Linked DNA regions of Homo sapiens: all the other regions are linked to region 1. The links are contacts of gene promoters, found by promoter capture Hi-C in blood cells and fetal thymus (Javierre and others, 2016). All regions are on one chromosome and are shown on one strand. Each heading gives the region's core, a stretch centred on a gene start or on the middle of the fragment in contact. The rest is flanking DNA. Distances are from core to core; before and after follow the strand shown. Region 1 holds the start of KLHL15 (kelch like family member 15). Region 2 has its middle 43 kb from the start of CXorf58. Region 3 overlaps CXorf58 (chromosome X open reading frame 58).

Evidence for each region. Contacts are between HindIII fragments. The CHiCAGO score rates a contact against its expected background, and 5 or more counts as called.
Region 2: a fragment that was not itself captured here is called in contact with the fragment with the promoter of KLHL15 in region 1 in 5 of 17 cell types (activated CD4 T cells, total CD8 T cells, naive CD4 T cells and 2 more); the score reaches 9.2 in activated CD4 T cells.
Region 3: a contact is called between a fragment that was not itself captured here and the fragment with the promoter of KLHL15 in region 1, in 17 of 17 cell types (activated CD4 T cells, naive B cells, total B cells and 14 more). The highest score is 34.9, in activated CD4 T cells.

Annotation. Positions count from the first base shown.
Region 1 is chrX:24,025,844-24,030,271 of GRCh38, reverse strand. KLHL15 (kelch like family member 15) reads left to right here and starts at 3,086. Exons shown (of 4, transcript NM_030624.3): 1 at 3,086-3,132. RefSeq lists enhancers at 2,007-2,506, 3,714-4,217, 4,218-4,428 and a silencer at 4,385-4,428. The HindIII fragment of the contact is 3,234 bases long and covers 229-3,462 here.
Region 2 is chrX:23,948,675-23,953,120 of GRCh38, reverse strand. No RefSeq gene overlaps it. Among named protein-coding and RNA genes, the nearest start is that of CXorf58, 43 kb to the right of the region's middle. RefSeq lists an enhancer at 1-528. The HindIII fragment of the contact is 8,514 bases long and covers 1-4,446 here.
Region 3 is chrX:23,911,028-23,915,473 of GRCh38, reverse strand. It overlaps CXorf58 (chromosome X open reading frame 58), which reads right to left. Exons shown (of 9, transcript NM_152761.3): 3 at 3,618-3,717. Among named protein-coding and RNA genes, the nearest start is that of CXorf58, 5.2 kb to the right of the region's middle. The HindIII fragment of the contact is 3,954 bases long and covers 89-4,042 here.

The DNA of each region.
Region 1 (4,428 bases), core at 1,837-4,336:
TTATCCCTACCTCCAGGAAATCCTGTTGGCTCTTCCTCCAGAATATTTGCAAAGTCTAAGCACTTCTCACCATCTCCACTGTAGCCTCCATTCCATTCCATTCCATTCCATTCCATTATCGGAATAGTCTCCTAACCCATCTCCCTGCTTCTGCCCTAGTCCACCTAAATTCTGTTACTTACATAGCAGCCTGAGTGTCAAATCATATTGGTCCTCTTCACCAAAGCTTCCAGTGGTTCCCAATTTCTCACAGGCCAAAGACCTTACAATTGCCTACCAGGTTTTATACACTCTGGTCCCTAATTTCATTGAAGGCAAGGCTCAAATGATACCTCCTACTTTGATCATCCCAGTTAAAACTGGAACACCCTTCCCCAGCTCTGTTATTTTCCATAGCATTTATCACATCCCGATTTGGGGAATAGACGCCACAGAATTAGTCCAGGCTGACCACCACACAAACAACAAATCTAAAAATAGCAAACTCTACCACCACCTGGATTGGGAGTGGGTTAATACAGAGTCCAGAGTTGCTACAACATATTATCTAAAAGAAACAGGATGTACAAAGAAACAGCAAAGTGTGACCCATACTCAGGAAAATAAGGAGTCAACAGAAAACTACCTCTGAGGGTTCAGTGTTACTGTGATCAGTGCAATTATAGTTTTTTTTTGTCCTGCATTTTCACATAAGATTATATTAGAAACAATTTCATAAGTCATTAAAACTTCTATGAAAATAATATATATTTTTTTTGAGGCAGAGTCTCCCTCTTTCGCCCAGTCTCCCGGGTTCAAGCACTTCTCCTGCTTCAACCTCCCAAATAGCTGGGATTACAGGCATGTGCCACCACGCCTGGCTAATTTCTTCGTATTTTTAGTAGAGATGGGGTTTCCCGTGTTGGCCAGGCTGGTCTCGAACTCCTGACCTCAAGTAATCCACCCACCTCAGCCTCTCAAAGTGCTGGGATTACAGGCGTGAGCCACCGCACCCGGCCACATTTACCACATTCTAACAGGCCACATAATTTGCTTATTTATTTTATTACCTGACACATGTAATCCGTACAAGGGCTAGAGTTTTCATATGTTTTATTCACTGATGGATCCCCAGTGGGTAGAACAAGACTTGGCATGTACTAGGCACTTACACATACTTATGGAATGAATAAATAAATAGTATAGTAGATTGCAAACCAACAATTTGTGGAATTAAGTAGGAATAAAAATACAACTATGTGAAGATCATTTACTATGTTAATATAATTACATGGTACAGTGGAAAGATCATGGGGTGGCTGGGTGCGGTTGATCACGCCTGTAATCCCAACACTTTGGGAGGCTGAGGTGGATGGATTACTAGAGGTCAGGAGTTCGAGACCAGCCTGGCCAACATGGGAAAACCCATCTCTACTAAAGTTACAAAATTTAGCTGGGCGTGGTGGTGTGTGCCTGTAGTCCCAGCTACTTGGGAGGCTGAGGCAGGAGAATCACTTGAACCTGGGAGGCAGAGGTTGCAGTGAGCCAATCACGCCACTGCACTCCAGCCTGGATGATAGAGGGAGACTCTGTCTCAAAAAAAAGAAAAAAAAAAAAAGTAAAAAGAAAAGTGATTACCAAGACAACTACCACAGACTGGGAATTTCTGAAAAGCCTCAACTTTTCTTTTCTTTTTTTTTTTTTTGAGACAGCGTCTAGTTCCGTTGTCCAGGCTGGAGTGCAGTGGTGCAATCTCGACTCACTGCAACCTCTGCCTCCTGGGCTCAAGCCATACTCCTACCTCAGCCTCCTGAGTAGCTGGGACCGCAGGCCCGCACCACCATGCCAGCTAATTTTTTGTATTTTTAATAGAGACGGGGTTTCACTATGTTCGTCAGGCTGGTTTCCAACTCCTGACCTCTAATGATCCTTCCGCCTCGGCCTCCCAAAGTGCTGGAATTACAGGCGTGAGCCACCACGCCTGGCCTCAATTTCTTAAAAAGCAAAAACAGGAGGGAGGAGGAGGGTATGCAGTATCCTAAATCCTCAGAACCCCTGGGGAAGAACCTCATTCCAACTCCACCAGCACTCCCAGGCCCAGGCTTCTAGCATGCTTCCGACCTCGCTAGCTGCTAAATAAATAGCTATTGAGGAATGTGTATTCTCAAATACTTAGGCTAGAGGGCTAAGAAAAGACAGCTTCCATCTACCTCTGTGGGACTCTACCAGTGTGAAAGGATACTCTCAAGGTATTTAACAACTCCCATTACAGTCCAGAAATTGGTGGGGAAAGTTAAAATATATTTTCTTTTCTTTTTTTTTTTTGAGACGGTGTTTTTGCTCTGTTGCCTGAGCTGGAGTGCAGTGGCTCACGCTTGTAATCCCAGCACTTTGGGAGGCCAAGGCGGGCGATCATGAGGTCGGGGGTTTGAGACCAGCCTAGCCAACACAGTGAAACCCCGTCTCTACTAAAAATACAAAAGTTAGCTGGGCACGGTGGCGAGCGCCTGTAATCCCAGCTACTCGGGAGGCTGAGGCAGGATAATCGCTTGAACCCGGGAGGCGGAGGTTGCAGTCAGCCGAGATCCACTGCACCCCAGCCTGAGCGACAGACTCCATCTCAGAAAAAAACAAGCAAACAAAAACAAAACAAACAAACAAACAAAAACAAGAAAAGAAAAGTTAGCCGAGCATGGTGGGGCACGTCTGTGGTCCTAGCTATTCGGGAGGCTGAGGTGGAAGGATTGCTTGAGCCCGGGAGGTCAAGGCTGCAGTGAGCTGAGATCATGCCTCTGCCCTCCAGCCTGGCCGAGAGTGAGACTGTCTCAAAAAAAAAATAATAATAATAACATAAAAATAAGAAATAAGAGTGAAAGAGGCATCATTGATTGAAGATAACTTGGGGAGGGGTTCATATAGTAAACGTATAGATTGATTGAAAGACACAGCCCAGTTTTAAAACTACATAAATATCCAAAAAAGCACATTTGAAATTCCACGAGACCTTGCAATGTCAAAATAAGGAGGGACGGGAAGCACGGTGATCACACAATGGCTTATGACATACACTCACTACATTTATACCTGGTACAAAGAGCGCAGAAACGTTTCAACTCTTGCTTGAATCAAGAACAGAAGCCTCTCTTTAGACAGGTCAGTGCCACATAGTAATGTATAGCTTAAAATGTTAGTTAATGTACAAAAATCCAAACTCAGCGTTTAGATGTTCGGGAATAATGCATGAACATTTAAATATTCAGAAGTGGAATGTATGCATTTTTAAAGTTTATTTTATGATTTAATTTTAAAAATTTGTTTTAATGTGAAATTCTGGGGTAATTTGTCATGTAGTAATAGATACAAATATGGCAAGCAGGGATTTTTAAATAATGAACAGAAATATCTTAAAGGAGCTATTGGAAAAGATGGAAAGAAAGTGTGAACAACTTGGGAATTTCAGTGTCTTACAGTTTTTTTAAAGCTTGTTATAGTTTAAATCGGAATAAGGAAGCGTATTTCCAAAAGATTGAAGTGATTGTGTTATCTCTCCCACGAAGTAGTCTACTTCAGCAAAACAGTACACCGTGTGCTATTTTGGCCTCTTGGGAAAGATGGTATGTTCAAGTTTGCTAGAAAGAGATAATTATCGCTTTTAGCGACACCTCTCACGGAAAGTTCATCGGGATATTGGTCTAGAGAGAAAATGGCGGCGGGGGGTGGGGGTGGGGGAAGCCGAAATACCTCAGTTTAGGATCTGCTATGGGCAATGGATGCCCTAATTTAAGGTTAATTGTAGATCCACGGGCTTCCAACTGTGTATTTCCGTCATCTACACTTTTCCCAGAAAGAGATGCCATAATAAATTTACAAAACAGTCCTATAGTCTAGTTTTATATTCTTGTCAAGAAAAGGTAATATTTAAAAAGTACTAGCTAGAATTCTATAAAAAACGAACAACAAAAATCACTGCCCTCTGAATGTTCGTTCTTGATTATTTTGACGCAAGTAGAGACAGCTTTTTTAAATCCGGCATTATCTCCGGGTGGTGCAGACATGCAATTTTTTATGAATTTTCCCACCCTTGGGAAATCGATTTCTGAAACGTGTAATTGTTGTGCAGTAAGCCAAGTGGACAGTGACGCAATAGTCCACTGCAAGTTGCCTTACAAAAAATGATGTCATTTGGCGCAGATCTAGTCACTTTTATAACAGGTAGCTATGGAAAAGCTCCCTCCACGTTGTCCCCGATTCCCCCACCCCCACCGTGGCCAAGATGCAAAAAGACACTTTCCTGGCTTCCTAGCCCTCAACTTGTCGAGGGTGGGCGCACCGCAGTGGCTCAGGGCCCATCGCTCGTGCAGGCGGAGAGAGACCGCTGCAAGGGGACGAGGACAGCTGAGTGTCCTCAGCCCCGACGGCGGCGCCGCGGGGGAAGCTGCGTCGGGCCCA
Region 2 (4,446 bases), core at 1,187-3,686, 77 kb after region 1:
AAAGAAGTCCATGAGCTGGTAAGTTAGAAGTCAAGCTGTGTGCTCGGAAGTGGTAAAGGTGAGAGGATAAAGGCAGCCCACTTACACACAGTATGTGTCACAGCAGGGTAGGAGAATTACCTTAACACATGAGAGAAATTATCTTCCGAAGGAGGATTTCTATGATTTTAGCAGGAAAATGTGAATGTTGTGATTTATTTCAAGATTACTTAAATTATAGAATATTTCTGGGGGTGTGTTTCTCAAAAATATTCCTTTGAGGTTGTGCCTTCAGAAATAATCTGTGAAGACAAAAGGAGAGTGGCAAGGTACAGTCTTTGCATAGAGTATTTCTATCCACTTTAAATTCATGCAAACTTAAATATCGTCATTTTATTCTATTTATTTTAGCATGTTAAAAGAATTACATTAATTTATTTGTGCTAAATGAGAAGGTACCCTCAATGAGAAAAAAAGGTAATGGGTTGCATGCTGAGAATAACCTATGGATTAATATTTAAAGTTTCTCAAGAGATGATGTAATAATAAAATCCCTGGGACAGATAGTATAATGGCATTAGTCATAGATTTCCGGAAATGCTAATCCAACGTCTTTTAACACTGGAGGTGTTTTATTCATAGAAATCTGTAATAATTATTGATCCAAAATATGCTTAGGTTGTATTTGATTCTTTCTTAATAGCCTATGATGGAACTGTATAATTTTTGGTATTTATTTTTTTCACTCTGGTCCATAACCACCATATCTTGATATTTTTCCCTTTTAGAAGTTTCTCATAGCTCTGCAAATGTTGGAGAATTTTGAAGAATATAATTTGACAGGTTAATTTGAATGCTAAAGATTGTCATAATTTAATATTACCAGGGAGAAATGAATATTCACTTTTCCAAAAATATAGAAGGAAATGACTTACTCTTGGAGAACTTTAAAAAATAATATGCATGAATATTTTAAACTTAATGTGATTTCTATGAATCATAGCCAATATAATACTGTAAATTTATAGATCAGGGTTGAAAATTTTTGGACTTTGGACGATCTTCACTCTTTCACATCTTCCTGGTCCAGAAATCTGAGCAACTCACCTTACTTACAAACAAAGACTTAATAGAGGTGAAGTAAGTTTTCATGTTTCTAAAACTTCATTAATTGTATAAACAGTATATACATTCACCAGTACATTATGAAAATAAGCTACAAAACAATTGTAACTTAAGCCACACTTAAAATACTTTAGCCAAATACTGTTTATGAAAAGGAAGCCTTGATGTTTGCTTTCAAGCAAATCAACATTTCTTCAAGTTGTCAATATTATTCTACAAATAATTAGCATTGGTTAGGGAGACTGTGTTATTGGTCCACCATAGGAAAAAGTGATAGAGAGTATCAGGTTATAGAATCTTATTATTCTGTGTCCTTTTCATTTTATTTTATTTTTATTTTTTTTGAGAGAGTCTCACTCTTGTCACCCAGGCTGGAGTGCTGTGGCACGATCTTGGCTCACTGCAACTTCTGCTTCCTGGGTTCAACCAATTTTCCTGCCTCAGCCTCCCAAGCAGCTGGGATTACAAGCACCCGCCACCATGCCTGGCTAATTTTTTTTTTTTTTTTTTTTTTTGTATTTTTAGTAGAGACAAGGTTTCACCATGTTCGCGAGGCTGGTCTCGATCCGCTGACCTCAGGTGATCCGTCCGCCTCGGCCTCCCAAAGTGTTGGGATTACAGGCTTGAGACACTGCACCCAGCCTTCGGTGTCCTTTTTAAACTTAAGGTTCTGATAATTTAGAAATATGTAGTAAAATTTATTCCTCTTCTTTTTAAAAATCCTTGATTGCTGAATTCCTGCAAATTGTTCCTACAAAATTTGTAATCATTGTCAGTGGTGCTTGGTCAATGCACCATTGTTAAAACCAGCCTTGAAAAATAGACAACCTTTTGTATACAAGTGGTTATGCAGTTAATAATTTCTTCAGAAAGGCACTGCTACACTATTTCTGTGCTATTATGAGGAGTCTCTTTGTCAGTTAATATGTATTTCACCCACACATTTTTTGAGCTATCTCCTGAGTTGATGACCAAGCTAATGGCATAGAGTAAACCGTAACAATTTGTCCCCCGAGAAGATCCTGTCAAGTTGCCTAAAATGATAAATGTCCTTAATAATTACTTCATATTTTTATCCTATTCAGGCATGTAGTAGATATTCAACATATATTTACTGAATTGGTATTTTTGTTGTTGTCACTGTTTTTAATAATAAAGAATTAGTCTCTTAAGGCCAGACACAGTGGCTCACACCTATAATCCCAATACCTTGGGAGGCTGAGGTGGCCCGATCGCTTGAGCTCAGGAGTTCAAGACCAGCCTGGGCAACATGGTGAAACCCTGCCTCTACGAAAAATACAAACATCAGCCGGGCATGGTGGCACAGCCTGTAGTTCCAGCTACTCGGGAGGCTGAGGTGGGAGGATTGCTTGAGCCTGAGAGGTGGAGGTTGCAGTGAGCCGAGATCATGCCACTGCACTCCAGCCTGGGCGACAGAGTGAGAACTTGTCTCAAAAAAAAAAAAAAAAAAGGAAGAAGAAGAAAAGAATGATTCTCTAGATCCAATTTACAGGAAATACAGAGGACAGAGTTACGTGTTAGCTACACCAAGGAATTCAATCAGCAAAGTCTAGATCATGGGAAATGTTACAGAATGAATGATCCAGTTTAATTAACAAATTGTAATGGGGGAGAAAAAAAGAGGTGGATAGGGAACCTACAGATTAAAAAGAAATAAAAACCATATAAAAAAAGAGGCAAAATTAAACTACATTGTGTATGGGTGCATGCTTAGGTGAGGAAACTATAAAAGAATGAGGTGATTACCATAAAAGCCAGGAGAATAGTTACTCTTAAGAGACGAGGTGCAGGGCCAGGTAGAGGGTTTCTGGGGTGGTCAGGTATGACTCTTTCTTCTGACGTGGATGGTAGTTACTAAGGTGTCTTGCCTTACAATAATGCATTCAACTGTAAAATCATTTTATATGATTTTCTATAGATGTGTTATACTTTTAAAAGTTTAATACACAACAAGAAATATATACATATATATGTTTTCAAATTACCAACATGACGTCACAACAGTTGGCAAGAGATGTCTAGTAGCACATCACTCTACAGCATTTCCACCATACAGATACAATAGATATAAATAGAATCGGCCGGGCACAGTGGCTCACACCTGTAATTCCAGCACTTTGGGAGGCCGAGGCAGGCACATCACAAGGTCAGGAGTTCGAGACCAGCCTGGCCGATATAGTGAAACTCCGTCTCTGCTAAAAATACAAAAATTAGCCGGGCGTGGTGGTGGGTGCCTGTAGTCCTAGCTTTTCAGGAGGCTGAGGCAGGAGAATCGCTTGAACCCGAGAGGGGGAGGTTGCAGTGAGGCGAGATCACACCATTGCACTCCAGCCTGGGCAACAAGAGCGAAACTCCATCTCAAAAAAAAAATAGAATCAAGAACTCATATCATAGAATGTAAAATGTAGAATCATTAGAATGATTCTCCTTAAATAATAATTAAAATAATTAGAAGCGATACTTTTTGAGAAGTTTTACCTGTGATTTTAATACAGGTTACCTAAGTAAACTATACAATTACGAGTTTATACAATTCATTTTTTTTTCTTTTTGAGACAGTGTCTGGCTCTGTCACTCAAGCTGGAGTGCAGTGGCACGATCTCAGCTTACTGCAGCCTCTGCCTCCCAGGCTCAAGCGATCCTCCGACTTCAGCCTCCCACGCAGCTGGGACTACAGGCATGTGCCACCATGCCCAGCTAATTTAAAAAAAAATTTTTGTAGAGATGGAGTTTTGCCATGTTGCCCAGGCTGGTCTCAAACTCCTGTGCTCAAGTGATCCACCTGTCTCGGCCTCCCAAAGCACTGGGATTACAGGCATGAGCCACTGTGCCTGACTACAGTTTAATTTTTAATAATGGCTATACTTACCAACCAGCTCACAAAATTCCTGAAAATTTAACAATGAATGTTAAAAATTTAACAACAGCAAGCTAAGTATGAGCCACTTTAGCACGCTCTTGTATTCATCCTAACAATTCCCCGACTTTCTTGTGTTTTTTAAATTTAGTTTTTAAAATCAAATGCATACTTGCAGTTTTAAAAATCAAATAGTTCTCCATTTTCTGATCCTCAGAGGCAACAGTTTCAAATATTTTATCTGATTCTTTTGGTATTGACCTCCATCTCTCAAAATTAGATACTTCTTGATTTTTCAGTTTTGGACATGGCTATAGACTGAATGATTGTGTTCCCACCCCCACCCCAATTCATATGTTGAAATTCTAACCTCCAGTGTGATGGTAGAGATGGGGCCTTTGGAAAGTGATTTAGGTCACTAGGGTAGCACTCTCATGAATGGGATTAGTGCCCTCATAAGAGAC
Region 3 (4,446 bases), core at 816-3,315, 110 kb after region 1:
GGCACTATTATTTCCCTATGACAGCACTTTTCACAATATATTATAATTACTTATCAACTTGTCTGTGCCTCCTACTAGACTGTAAGCTTCATGAAGGTAGGGATGGTGGCTTTTCTCTTTACCACTATATTCCTAGCATCTAATACAGTGCCTGGAACACAGCAGATGCTTAAGAAGTATTTGTTGAATGAATCACTGTAAGATGAGGATGATAATAGTAATAAGTTACTAGCTTTTAAGCACCTTTTATGTACCATATACTACTATGTTAGGTGCCTTATATACATTAGCTCATTTAATCCTTACATCAGCAACACTATGAGAATTTTTTGTTTGTTTTGAGACAGAGTCTCGCTCCGTCGCCCAGGCTCGAGTGCGGTGGCATGATCTCGGCTCACTGCAACCTCCGCCTCCCAGGTTCAAGCGATTCTCCTGCCTCAGCCTCCCGAGTAGCTGGGACTACAGGCACCTGCCACCACGCCCGGCTAATTTTGTATTTTTTCAGTAGAGACGGGGTTTCACCATATTGGCCAGGCTGGCCTGGAACTCCTGACCTTGTGAGCCGCACGCCTCAGCCTCCCAAAGTGCTGGGATTACAGGTGTGAGCCACCACTCAGGCTGCAGTGCAATGGCATGATCTCGGCTCACCGCAACCTCCACCTCCCAGGTTCAAGTGATTCTCCTGCTCAGCCTCCTGAGTAGCTGGAATTACAGGCATGCGCCACCATGCCTGGCTAATTTTGTATTTTTAATAGAGATGGGGTTTCTTCATGTTGGTCAGGCTGGTCTCGAGCTCCCGACTTCAGGTGATCCACCCGCCTCAGCCTCCCAAAGTGCTGGGATTACAGGCGTGAGCCACTGCACCTGGCCCATTATGAGAATATTATCACGCCTATTTTACAGATGAGAAGGCTGAGGCTCAGGGAATTTTTGTAATTTATAAAAAGGCATACAGGTAGTGAATGGGGAAGCCAGGATTCATTTAGTTCTGTTTGACTCTAAAGTCCCAACTCTTTCCCCCAAACAACCCCAACCAACCCCGTTATGCCTATGATAATCACATAAAAATGTACACTAAAGAGCTTTTAGGCTGGGCACTGCGGCTCACGCCTATAATCCTGGCACTTTGGGAGGCCAAAGCGGGAGGATCACCTGAGGTCAAGAGTTCGAGACCAACCTGGTCAACATGGTGAAACCCCATCTCTACTAAAAATACAAAAATTAGCCAGGCGTGATGGCAGGCGCCTGTAGTCCAAGCTATTTGGGAGGCTGAAGCAGGAGAATCGCTTGAACCCGGGAGGCAGAGGTTGCAGTGAGCCGAGATCGTGCCACTGCACTCCAGCCTGGGTGACAGAGCAAGACTCTGTCTCAAAATAAATAAATAAATAGCTTTTAAAAGGACAAAGCATTATTAATTTAAGGTATTAAAGTATTACTATAACAGATAAAAAAGAATTTCCTTCTGTTACAAAAGTCTAAAAATACTATGAAACCAGCATTATAAAATTAAATACAAGTTCCATATTCAAAGACAATGGATAATAGACCTGAAATGCCAGGAGTTTACCTGGGTGGGTTTTCTCTGAAGTATTCAGACGGAGTCTTGCTCTGTCGCCCAGGCTGGAGTGCAGTGGCTCAAACTCGGCTCACTATAACCTCCACCTCCCCGGTTCAAGGTAGCTGGGATTACAGGCGCACACCACCATGCCCGGCTAATTTTTTTGTATTTTTAGTAGAGACGGGGTTTCACCATGTTGACCGGACTGGTCTCGAACTCCTGACCTCAGGCAATCCACCCGCCTCGGCCTCCTAAAGATCCCAGCTCACGCTGGGATTACAGGTGTGAGCCACTGTGCCCAGCCGTATTCTGCTTTTACTGACATCAGAAATAGGTCTGTGGGTCAGATGGTGAACGGTGTATACATTGCTCAGACTTTATTATTTTTTTCAGAGCTGCTAAAATTCCCTTAAGAGTATCACTAATTGGCCGGGTGTGGTGGCTCACGCCTGTAATCCCAGCACTTTGGGAGGCCAAGGAGGGTGGATCACCTGAGGTCAGGAGTTTGAGACCAGCCTGGCTAACATGGTGAAACCCTGTCTCTACTAAAAGTACAAAAAAAAAAAAATTAGCTGGGCATGGCGGCACGCACCTGTAGTCCCAGCTACTAGGGAGGCGGAGGCAGGATAATCACTTGAACCTGGGTGGTGGAGGTTGCAGTGAGCCAAGATCATGCCACTGCACTCCAGCCTGGGCAACAGAGTGAGACTTCATCTCAAAAAAGAAAAGAAAAAAAAGAGTATCACTAATAATAGACTACTGGATTTATAGGTTGTTTTATTAGAATATTTGGTACTATGCCAAGGAAGGCTCTGCTAGGGTTGCCAGAGTTGCTTTCTGGAGGAGGGGGGATATGCACCTTTTTTTTTTGGTTTTGGTTTTCACTCAAGTAGGATCATGCTCTTCATACTGTCTGGTGCTTGCTTTTTTAACTGATGAGCTATCTTCATTTCCTTTCTATTGCAGAATCATGTTAAAGCTGCAAAGTTTAACACTATAAAAGCAGCAACACTTATTTAACCAGCATCATATCAATAGATATTATACAGTTTACTCCCTTTGCTGTTACAAACAACGGTGCAATCAAATTGTGTATGTATTGTAGAACAGATTCTTAGAAGTAAAATTGCTGGATAAAAGGTAAGGGAACTTTTAATTCAGAGCTTTTTGAAGGGGGACAGAGTCTCACTGTCGCCCAGGCTGGAATGTAGTGGCGCAATCTCCGCTCACCATAACCTCCACCTCCTGGGTTCAAGCAATTCTCCTGCCTCAGCCTCCCAAGTAGCTGTGACTACAGGCTCATGCCACCACGCCTGGCTATTTTTTTGTATTTTAGTAGAGACAGGGTTTCTCAATGTTGGCCAAACTGGTCTCGAACTCCTGGCCCTCCCTGCCTTGGCCTCCCAAAGTGCTGGGATTACAGGCGTGAGATGCTGCACCTTGCAGATTCGGAGCTTTTTATTGTTGGAAGAGAACTGTCTCACATTTTCAAATAAGGAATCAAATTTAAAAACAAAACAAGGCAAGCAGTATATTAATTTCAGAAAAAAGTAATAGTCATCCACATTTTAAAAAATCCAGAAATACTCATCTAGGGCTAACAGAAGAAACAATTCCAGAACTCCACGTGATATTATTAGATCCAAATAGAAGAGATAAAGAAAGGGCCGGGCGTGGTGGCTCACGCCTGTAATCCCAGCACTTTGGGAGGCCAAGGCAGGCAGATCACGAGGTCAGGAGATCGAGATCATCCTGGCTAACATGGTGAAACCCCATCGCTACTAAAAATACAAAACATTAGCCAGGCATGGTGACAGGTGCCTGTAGTCCCAGCTACTTGGGAGGCTGAAGCAGAAGAATCGCTTGAACCTGGGAGGCAGAGGTTGCAGTGAGCCAAGATTGTGCCACTGCACTCCAGCCTGGGTGAAAGAGCCAGACTCCCTCTCAAAAAAAAAAAAAAAAGAGGAGATAAAGAAGGTTATCTATTCGATCTTTAATTAATAGATCTTTTAGCTTGATAATTAAATCCCTCAGAGAAAAAAATAAGCAAAATACATACCGCTGCACAAATTGCGTGTTTTAGGAGTCGAAATATCATTTTGTTTGTATGAGATAACCAAGCCCTCTGTATTATTTGAGCTGAAATGTCTTTAAGCATTCTGAGAGAAAAAAAGAGGTTAATATTTATAAAGTAGTTTTCATTTTCCTAAAACCTTAGAGAACTATCAATTTATGCTTCCTCCTCCTGTACCTCCCCATCCCCCACTCTAAGACTGACCTAATGAGGAACATTTGGATGTGGTAATTGGAAGTGGTCATTTGCAGAATCTACTCAGAATGAGGATATGAAATACTTGAGGAGATTTCCCTTGAGATTAAAAAAAAAAGTCCTGGCCAAAACTTTGTCATCAAAAGGCATATAAAATATAAATATATCATTAAGAGGCATGTATATTATAAATAAAAAGTATGAGGAGACAAGCTTACTTCCCAAAAACATTCACGACCTAAAATGAAACGTCCAACTAGTTCAAGTGCTATGAAAATGGAATGGGGAATAGTCAAAGTTACAGGAGGCCCAGTTCTCTTCTGGGGGTGGATGACTATGCCCTAGAAAAAGAAACTTCCTTCTCTGATCTTTGCTTGAACCAGGCTCATCCAGGTCAAGTCGGAATTATTCTACTTTTGATCATATCCCAGCACTGGCAGATTGTAGGGGTCTCCTCCTTCATACCTTCTCACCCCATCATTACCCCTTACAGCGCTATGTACAAAGACAGGTACTCCTGCATAATGCTACCCATTGGCTGGCAAAATGCAGGCTACAAGATATAAAGAAGAAAAGGCTAGGCCAGACACAGTGACTCACGCCTGTAATTCCAGCAGTT